Regions from separate parts of the Homo sapiens genome. Here regions 2 and 3 are each linked to region 1. Evidence: promoter capture Hi-C in 16 types of primary human blood cells and fetal thymus (Javierre and others, 2016). All regions are on one chromosome and are shown on one strand. Each heading gives the region's core, a stretch centred on a gene start or on the middle of the fragment in contact. The rest is flanking DNA. Distances are from core to core; before and after follow the strand shown.

Region 1 (2,755 bases), core at 119-2,618:
TAGAACAATGGATCATCAAATGCATATAATGAAAAATGAAATCAGTTACCTTACTTTTAAACTTTTCTAACCTTGGGAAAAAGGAAAAGATTGTATCTTACATGCTATATATATGATTTTGATCCTCAATACAGCCAAAATGTAATCCCAATTTGAAGTAGTAGCACTTTCTAGACTACCCAATATTGTTAGTAACGTTTAATTTAAATTTTAATTATACCCTCTAACAGATCTGCAAAGCTACTAGCACAGCTATTCTACCTTAATTTAGCATGAATTTAGTGACAGACTATTATGTGACCCTATTGCTTAGTAATGAAAGATTTAAAATAAGAGAAATGTAAAAATGATAATTCTGGTAAATGTAACCACTACCACCAACCCACCCCCCAAAACAAACAACTTGGGATTTCTTTCCATTTCTCGGTGATACTTTTTACAAAACTAAGTGTACCTTGTTTAACATTCGTTTTTAAAATTCACATTATTAATCTGTAAAAGTTTTGGATTTGTTCACAGTAACACTCTTTTAAAATATTTTCTATTCATATGCTTATTTTGGATTGGTGTTTTTGTCTGTAGTGCAAAGGACATAATCCAAGAACATTAATACTGGTGTAAACCAGTTTGTCCATTCAAACAGCCTAAATCCACCTCTCTGCTCCTACACTCCGGGGTCACAAAATAACTTCCCACAAGCAACACTCGCACTCTCACCTTCACCAAAACACTCCTTTCACCCTAATCAGGGAATGTATTAAAGTCTGATCCGGCGAACGGTAAATAAACTAGAAGACGATGCTCAAAATTCAGACTCCTGAGCCCAGCCCAAGTCCAATTCAATCAGTGTCTTCAGGGGTGGGATCTAAGCTCACCAAGTGGTTTCCTTTTCACTAAAGTTTGAAAACTACTAGAGACCCCTACACACATTCGCCCCAAACTCCCACAACTCCCACCACCGCCAACCAACCCCACCTACCCACCCGCGGGACACGTTACCGCCCTGCCCTGCTCAGACCTCAGGGCGACCCCGCTCCTCTCCAGGAAGCCCACCCTGGCGCCCACTCCTCCGAGTCCGCAGCTCCTCCCTCCCATCCCCGCAACCCAAACCTTTCTCCTCACTTCTTCAAATCGCTGCTAAAGAGGCCGAAGGCCCCCGAGGGGGAAATGGTTGAGGTCGCCTCCTGACCCAGCTCCGTCGCCTCCCCTCCTCCGGACTGCTCATTGTAAGGAAAACTATTGCTGGACATTGCCGCGGTGCTGGCGGGTGCGGGGTTGGTCCTGCCGGGGGTTCTCTCCAAAAGGTTCCAGTCCAGAGGGCACGGAACAAAACTAGTTCTCGTACGGAGGAGCGCGCGCAGGCGCTTCCGGACTCGTCACGGCTCCCTGAGCCGACCTGGCAGTCCACCCCCTGCGCATGCGCAGTGTGCAGGCCTGCTAGATTACCACCCGGGCCATCCAGGCCTGCGCGGACTTTCCTGCTCCGGGCTTTAGAGGTAGCTGAGCGGCTGCGAGCCGGACTGCGGAAGGGGAGGCAGCGGGTGGCTAACTGCCCGGCTCCCGGCCCGTTTGAGGTGTGTCTTTGGAGAAGGATACCCATTGCATCCGTTTTGATCCGTTAAGGAGTTTCCAGAGCCCGGACAGCTCTTTGCTATACTTCAGTAAAGCAATAGTTTTCAGATTTCTCCGGAAATGCCATTTAGCACGCCAGATCACCTTTCCTAAACCCATCACGATCGCTTTTCCTTTTCTTGCTTGTTTCGGCTACTCTCTTCCATCCGGCTTTGCCTTACTTTCATATCGGTCCCAAACAACTTTTCTCCTAGACTTTAAGGAGGCCTCTCCCAACGATGGTTTGGAGGATCCGCACAGAAGCGACCATTCCATCTTTTCAATGAAAGTCTTGGGGGCAGACCGGGCGCGGTGGCTCACGCCAGTAATTCCAGCACTTTGGGAGGCCGAGGCGGGTGGATCACTTGAGGCCAGGAGTTCGAGACCAGCCTAGGCAACATAGCGAGACCCTTTCTCTGCAAAAAATATAAAAATTAGCCGGCGTGGTGGCGCGTGTCTGTGGTCCCAGCTACTGAGGCTGAGGTGGGAGGATCACTCGAACCCAGAAGGAGGGGGTAGCGATGAGTTGAGATCTCTCCACTGCATTCCAGCCTGGGCGACAGAGCGAGACCCTGTCTCAAAAAAATGAAAAAGAAAAGAAAACATCTTGGGGCCACCAGTTCCCGTTTGGAGCTGAAGTGGTGCGTCCTATTGGCGTCTAGCTACCAAAAATAAAATGGACCACCTCGCGCGCCAGTCGTGTTACTCACTAATATGCACTAGGGAGCCTAGGCGGGATGCTTGCCTGGCCCCAGAGTAGCTCTCTCCGGGTGCTGGCACCCGAGAAAACCTCTTTCCCGGGGTGCCTTCCCCCAGCCCGCCTTCTCAGGTGGGTTTCAGCGCCTTCCCTCTCTTCTCCCCAGTGCCTCCCGTCCAAGGAAGGCATTAACACCCAAAGCCCTGGCGGCCAGGTACTGAAACTGTCAAGGGATTCTACCAGGTAGAACGCGAACCTGGAGGCCGGCCGCCCCAGGGAAGGCGGTGGGGCGTTTTCAAGGATGAGAGTATGATCTCCAAATTTCAAAAGGTCACACTGTCACTGTGGAAGCACGCAAGAGCGTGGCTCTGGGTGGGAGAGGAAGGGACGTCCTCCAAACTTGATCGTCTGGTCAAATATTGGCAGGTTTTTAATTCAGCTGTTAGA
Region 2 (2,755 bases), core at 172-2,671, 740 kb before region 1:
ACCATTGTGACATTTTTAGTGTCTTATGAGCTTTTCCTTGTGCATGAGTAAAAATCTAAGAAAAATAGAAAAGGAAATTGAAAAAGAATATTCTTACATATGTGCCAGGCAACAGCAGACAGCCCACCTTTCCCAGGGAGTCTGGCTACACAAAGGCCTATGGAGGCAGAGCAGATTGCCGCATTCACCAAAAGAGCCTCGCTGACCTGCACCGAATTCCCCAGAGGACTGGGCCCTACTTATTTTTACATCATTAGCCCTCTTGGGGCAGGCTGAGGTCATTTCCAATTTGAAAACGACCTTGGATCACAAGCTGAAGTTTTCCATTTGTTTACGCTATTAAACATCCTGAGATATGATTAATAAGTCTTCTGCATAGAGAAATAAGTTTATTTCTAACAAACATGGTCCTTGACATGTTTCTACTATTTATGTTATTGCAGTGAGTTCATTCCACAAACTAATTTTCCAGCACTTTCTAATCTTAGCATTGTTTGGCAGTCTCTTAAACTCAGCAATAAGTTGTCTGATAAACCAATATGCAAGACATGAATTGTTTAGAAAATTATGAATATGTGATTACTTTCATCCTTTCAAAATAATAAAGTCATTGAAAAAATATTTTTTTTCTGTATTTTCCAAATTATCTATTACACTAAGGGAAAAAAACCTTAATTTTTAAAGCTTAACAAGAAATTGTGGGCTAAGATTCCTTAGGGAATCAAATATACATTTCACTTCTTGTAAAAGGGTCTATGAAAGCTGTTATTACTCTTTTAGGAGAGCTCAAGAATAAATAACAGACACATGTATTGAGTTGCTCTGTGTGTATTAAAGACAGTGGTACGCTGGTAAATAGTTAACAACCAGCTATATAGAGAGGGAAATAGCCTTGACTTGATTTGTAGCATTTGCCAATTTCTGTCATGTAAACACTCCCACTGTGGCCAATTTCAAGCTACCAATTTGATATCACTAAATGTCGAGTTGGGGAGAAATGTACCACACAGATACAAAAGATAGATGTAAATAATCTTAAGAGTATAGATGTTAAAATGCAGCACCATAATTAGAAAGTGATGTTTTTGAGCAGTTATTACATTAATATAAATTTTAAATTACAAGTTTATATAATTTGATTGTTAATAATTACTGTGTTTAACAACAGGCTGGCAAAATTCTTGAAGCTGCTTTAGCAAGGCACTAATTAGACCGTACTGGTGGTAATGTACTACCCAATCCAGTACAACAATTAGTAGATGACAGAATTCAATATATGGACATGATTTTTATATAATGTTGTTATATAAATATAATGTTGATGTATACATAACATATCTATAATTTGTTATATGTCAGCATTATATATAATATATATTTTCATTATATCTAATGTTATATATAAAACTTTATATATAATGTTATGTGTGTGTGTGTGTATTCCTACATACTCATGACCTTTATATAGGAAAGAGTCCTGAAATCCTCCTTTAAGGTAATTGCTTGGTAAACTGTATACACAATTCAATCACAGCCATGCTACTGAATTGTTTTGCAGATAACAGACCTAATTTTCAGAATTACCTCTTGGTCCAGCCAGATCAGAGAGAACAAAGCAACACATAATTTCTGGATTCCTAACAAAGTCATCTAGCAGGCCTAAAAGAACTCCAGTATCATTCCCAATCTATCTAGTCAGTGTGTGAGACACAAGGTAGGAAAGGAAAAAGGGGGAAAAGGGAGACTCCCAAAGGATCCCTTCCACAATTAATTATGCAAATCACAAGTAAATTAGACACTAAAATTTTAAGATTGATTGAAAGGCTTGCTCAAATTGCTTTAACTGTGATTCATAAACCAATCACACAAATTCATCTGTTAGGTTGTATAAAAAAATTAGAAAGATGTAGAATGGAATAAGATTACCTTAATTTAAATGTAAAAGACATGGTTGCTGAAGTATGAGTCTCTTATACCATAAGCACTAGCCCATCAGATGTTAACAAAATCTGATATGCAACAGTTTTACATATCCCCTTGTGGGAGAAAGATCAACTTGTGATCTGCTTTATAAATCAGCTACAGTGTTAGAGTTAGGCTACTGTAGCTAAATGGCTTTTAGATATGCTTCCTGTTTTAAGCTACCATATTTACAAATGAAAGCTTTTTCAAACCATGGCTTTTAATATAATTTGCATATTTAGTAATACATTGATTAAAATTAAACACGGATTATTGCAATTTATTTCAGAAACAGATGGGATGCATTAAATGAAAAGCCAGAGTTTTTAAATAGAACAGACTCGCTGGCTGACTACTGATGAATGATGAATATAAAAACTTTGTAAATTGGCAAAAAGAAAAAAAAAGTCCTTTGCGCCGATTTCTTTTCAAGGTTTTCCTGACTAGTGATTCCAGGAAATTAGTAATCAAGTTAATTTAAAATGAATAATTTATATCAAAGGTATGCATCAGCTTAATGAAAGCAGATTTCTCAGAATTAAAAATGCTTCCACAAACTTTGAATCTTCCTTGTCTACAGGGTATGTGTTCTCAGGTTTTCCTAATTATGGATTTGATAGGGTTCACCAGCAGATGGCATTCTTCCATTACATACATTCCTGCTGGATTGCTTTGCATTTACAGTTTCATGAAACTTCTTCACCAGCTAGTGTAAATTAACCATGAATTCACTCAACGGTAGAGATAGCTGGGTTGAAGCATTTGTTTCTGAAATGGCATATTCTTAAAATAG
Region 3 (2,755 bases), core at 104-2,603, 670 kb after region 1:
TAGAATATAGGCGCTATCATGTAACACTAACAGTTTTTTTTTTTATCAGAGTTGAAACTCAGTAAGGGTGATAAAATCTCAATCCTTCAAAGCTATATAATGGTAAAAATAATGTACAGTTAATGTGACTTGTTACAGGTTTTTACTCTAAGGTGATCACATAAATGAGTGCAGGATTCAAACAATGTTTGTTGTTACTGATGTTGCGAGACTGGCTTCAAGGTTATTTACAGAAGTGGTTCTAGGAAGAGTCATCTTTAGTCAGATGCTGACACCCACTGGTGAAAGATACAAACCTTTCCTAATAGAGGATCTCTAGACATAACAGAGCCAACAGATCAAACTAAAGTGAGCACTGAAATAAGACTTTTCTACCTAAAATGATCTCAATTTCACCCCAGATTTAAATGGCATCAACGGCCTATCCCATAATTTAGACTTCACATGGAAGAAAATGGGTTTTCTCAAATATAGTTGTTTCTGCAAATGTTCCATCTTTTCTATATTTTAAAATATTATATTTCTATATTTTAAAGTATTAAAATAAGCTGTGCTACGTATGATTCCACTTGTATTAAATGCCCACAACATGTAAATCTATAGAGACAGAAAATAGATTAGTGGCTGCCTAGGGCTGGAGGGACTAGGGGGAAATGGGGAGTGATTGCTGAGGTGGATGAGTTTCTTTTTTGGGGATGATAAAAATGTTCTACAATTGGATTGCCATGATAGTGGCACAACCTTCTGAATTTATTAAAAATCATTGAATTGTACACTTTAATTGGGTGAATTGTATGATATGTGAATTATACTTTGATAAAGTTATTAAAAAGAAATATTTGCTAGACTCTTAGCTATCTCCTGACATATACTGCTTATTAACCTTAAAATGAGGATGATAAAATTGACCTAGCTCTTTCTTCAGTCCTGAACTTTCCCTATAATGAAAATTAAGAGCTTTACATAGTTTATATAATAAATCAATTCATTTTAAATTAAATTCTCCTTTTCTATGACTCAATAAATTCAAGATCTTGAATACAATTAATACTTTGGTCTTAAAATAACTTTTATATGGCAATCTTTTCTCCTATGTATATAATGGAAAACGAAATACAAAGTACTTGTTAATTAATGTGTAACAGAGAAAGAAATGTATCCATAAAAATAATTTCAGCCCTTACATGGGTGATTAGAATGTCAGAACACTGGAGGTCTATTTAAGGTTTTTAATAACTACTGGGCATTAAAGCTTGAGGAAATCACTTCAGGTTCTTTAACTGTTAAGTGTGAGCTGCTTTCTATCAGTTAGCAGAATATAGGACAGATACACTTCATTAGCAAAGGCATGAACTACAAATATTTAAAAGATAATACAGATAGGAGAATTCCAGAAATAAAACTATTCACATACTTGGCAAAACTAATACCAAGCAACCATGTGACAATCACATGAAGCTTTTCTTCATAATAATGATTCACAAATTTGAACTTCAATACTGAGCCTAAAGATGATGGCAGCCTATGCTTTTGGGGGAAAAAAATAGAAAATGCTTCTTGAACAACCAAATCTTCTCTGATGCTTTATGTACCAGCTGCATTGAGATATAATTCACATACCACACAAGTCACTCATTTAAAGTGTAAAAGACATTGGTTTCTAGTGTATTCACAGGCTTGTGCAACTATCCCACCATCACCTGATTTTTAGCAAAAGAGCTGAGATGTAACAGTGAGAAGAGCTGTGTGGTCATCATAACCTTCTTGGCTGCAAGTCTCCCTTCAAATGAATTTGGGGTGTGTGTTCATCTAAATCCAGGTTAGGCTTCTTAATTCTCATAAAAGGATATCATTTCTACCTTCTGTCCAGCTGAATTTTTAAGTACCTAACTTGGTTTTAATAAACAATTCAAAATATCTACAGCCCATCCTCTTCCCAGAGTATAGATATTGACTCATCTTTTAGCAAAGGCCTGATTGAAAAATTTCTAAGGATGTACAGGCTGTTTGCTCCTCTAGAATTTCCAAGATGACAAAGTGATCTTACATCAAGTCTAATTTTAACAGCTATTTGAGGTACTGAGAATACATCCGGGTCCATTTAAAAAAAAAAAAAAAAAAGCTAAGATTGAGTAGTGAGGTCTGCTGGTGGACCTGGATGAGAGTGGGGCACACACACCCTCCTGTCTGACATCCTTGCATCTTGATTTTAACCCTGAATCCAATGAGGCATTACAGAGCCATGTGCTTCAGCTGCATTGTTTTGGCCCCCATATAATTACTTTTACTGAATTGCACTTTGGTGCTCTGGCCCTAGCTTGAACAGAAGAAAATACCTCAAAACATCTACAAGAAAACCACCTAACGTATTATTAAAATGACATTTTTAAAGATGTTGTCCACCTTACCTTCTCCTTCTCCCAAAGGAGAAATTTCTGTCAGGCCTAAGAGCCAGAAAATGCTTTTGCTTTTCCTGAACATCTGGTTTCCATTTATCTTGTAAATAATGTAACTCTTATAGTCTTTTCCTTTCTTTCTCCCTCTTCGGACAAATAAATTTCAAATCTCAGGCTGGGCGCGGTGGCTCACACCTGTAATCCCAGCACTTTGGGAGGCCAAGATGGGTGGGTCACGAGGTCAGGAGTTCGAGACCAGCCTGACCAACATGGTGAAACCCTATCTCTACTAAAAATATAAAAATTAGCTGAGCGTGGTGGCACACACCTATAATCCCAGCTACTCAGGAGGCTGAGGC

Evidence for each region. The method cuts DNA at HindIII sites, captures the fragments that hold promoters and counts their contacts. A CHiCAGO score of 5 or more calls a contact.
Region 2: a fragment that was not itself captured here is called in contact with the fragment with the promoter of AP3B1 in region 1 in 1 of 17 cell types (M2 macrophages); the score reaches 7.4 in M2 macrophages.
Region 3: a contact is called between a fragment that was not itself captured here and the fragment with the promoter of AP3B1 in region 1, in 1 of 17 cell types (naive B cells). The highest score is 5.0, in naive B cells.

What each region holds. Positions count from the first base shown.
Region 1 is chr5:78,293,330-78,296,084 of GRCh38, forward strand. It overlaps AP3B1 (adaptor related protein complex 3 subunit beta 1), which reads right to left and starts at 1,369. Exons shown (of 27, transcript NM_003664.5): 1 at 1,123-1,369. The coding sequence starts at 1,250. RefSeq lists enhancers at 1,632-2,205, 2,580-2,629. The HindIII fragment of the contact is 5,219 bases long and covers 1-2,755 here.
Region 2 is chr5:77,558,266-77,561,020 of GRCh38, forward strand. It overlaps a transcript of WDR41 not described here. Among named protein-coding and RNA genes, the nearest start is that of WDR41, 67 kb to the left of the region's middle. The HindIII fragment of the contact is 1,479 bases long and covers 683-2,161 here.
Region 3 is chr5:78,964,824-78,967,578 of GRCh38, forward strand. All of the region lies in intron 2 of ARSB (arylsulfatase B), which reads right to left. Among named protein-coding and RNA genes, the nearest start is that of ARSB, 19 kb to the right of the region's middle. The HindIII fragment of the contact is 206 bases long and covers 1,251-1,456 here.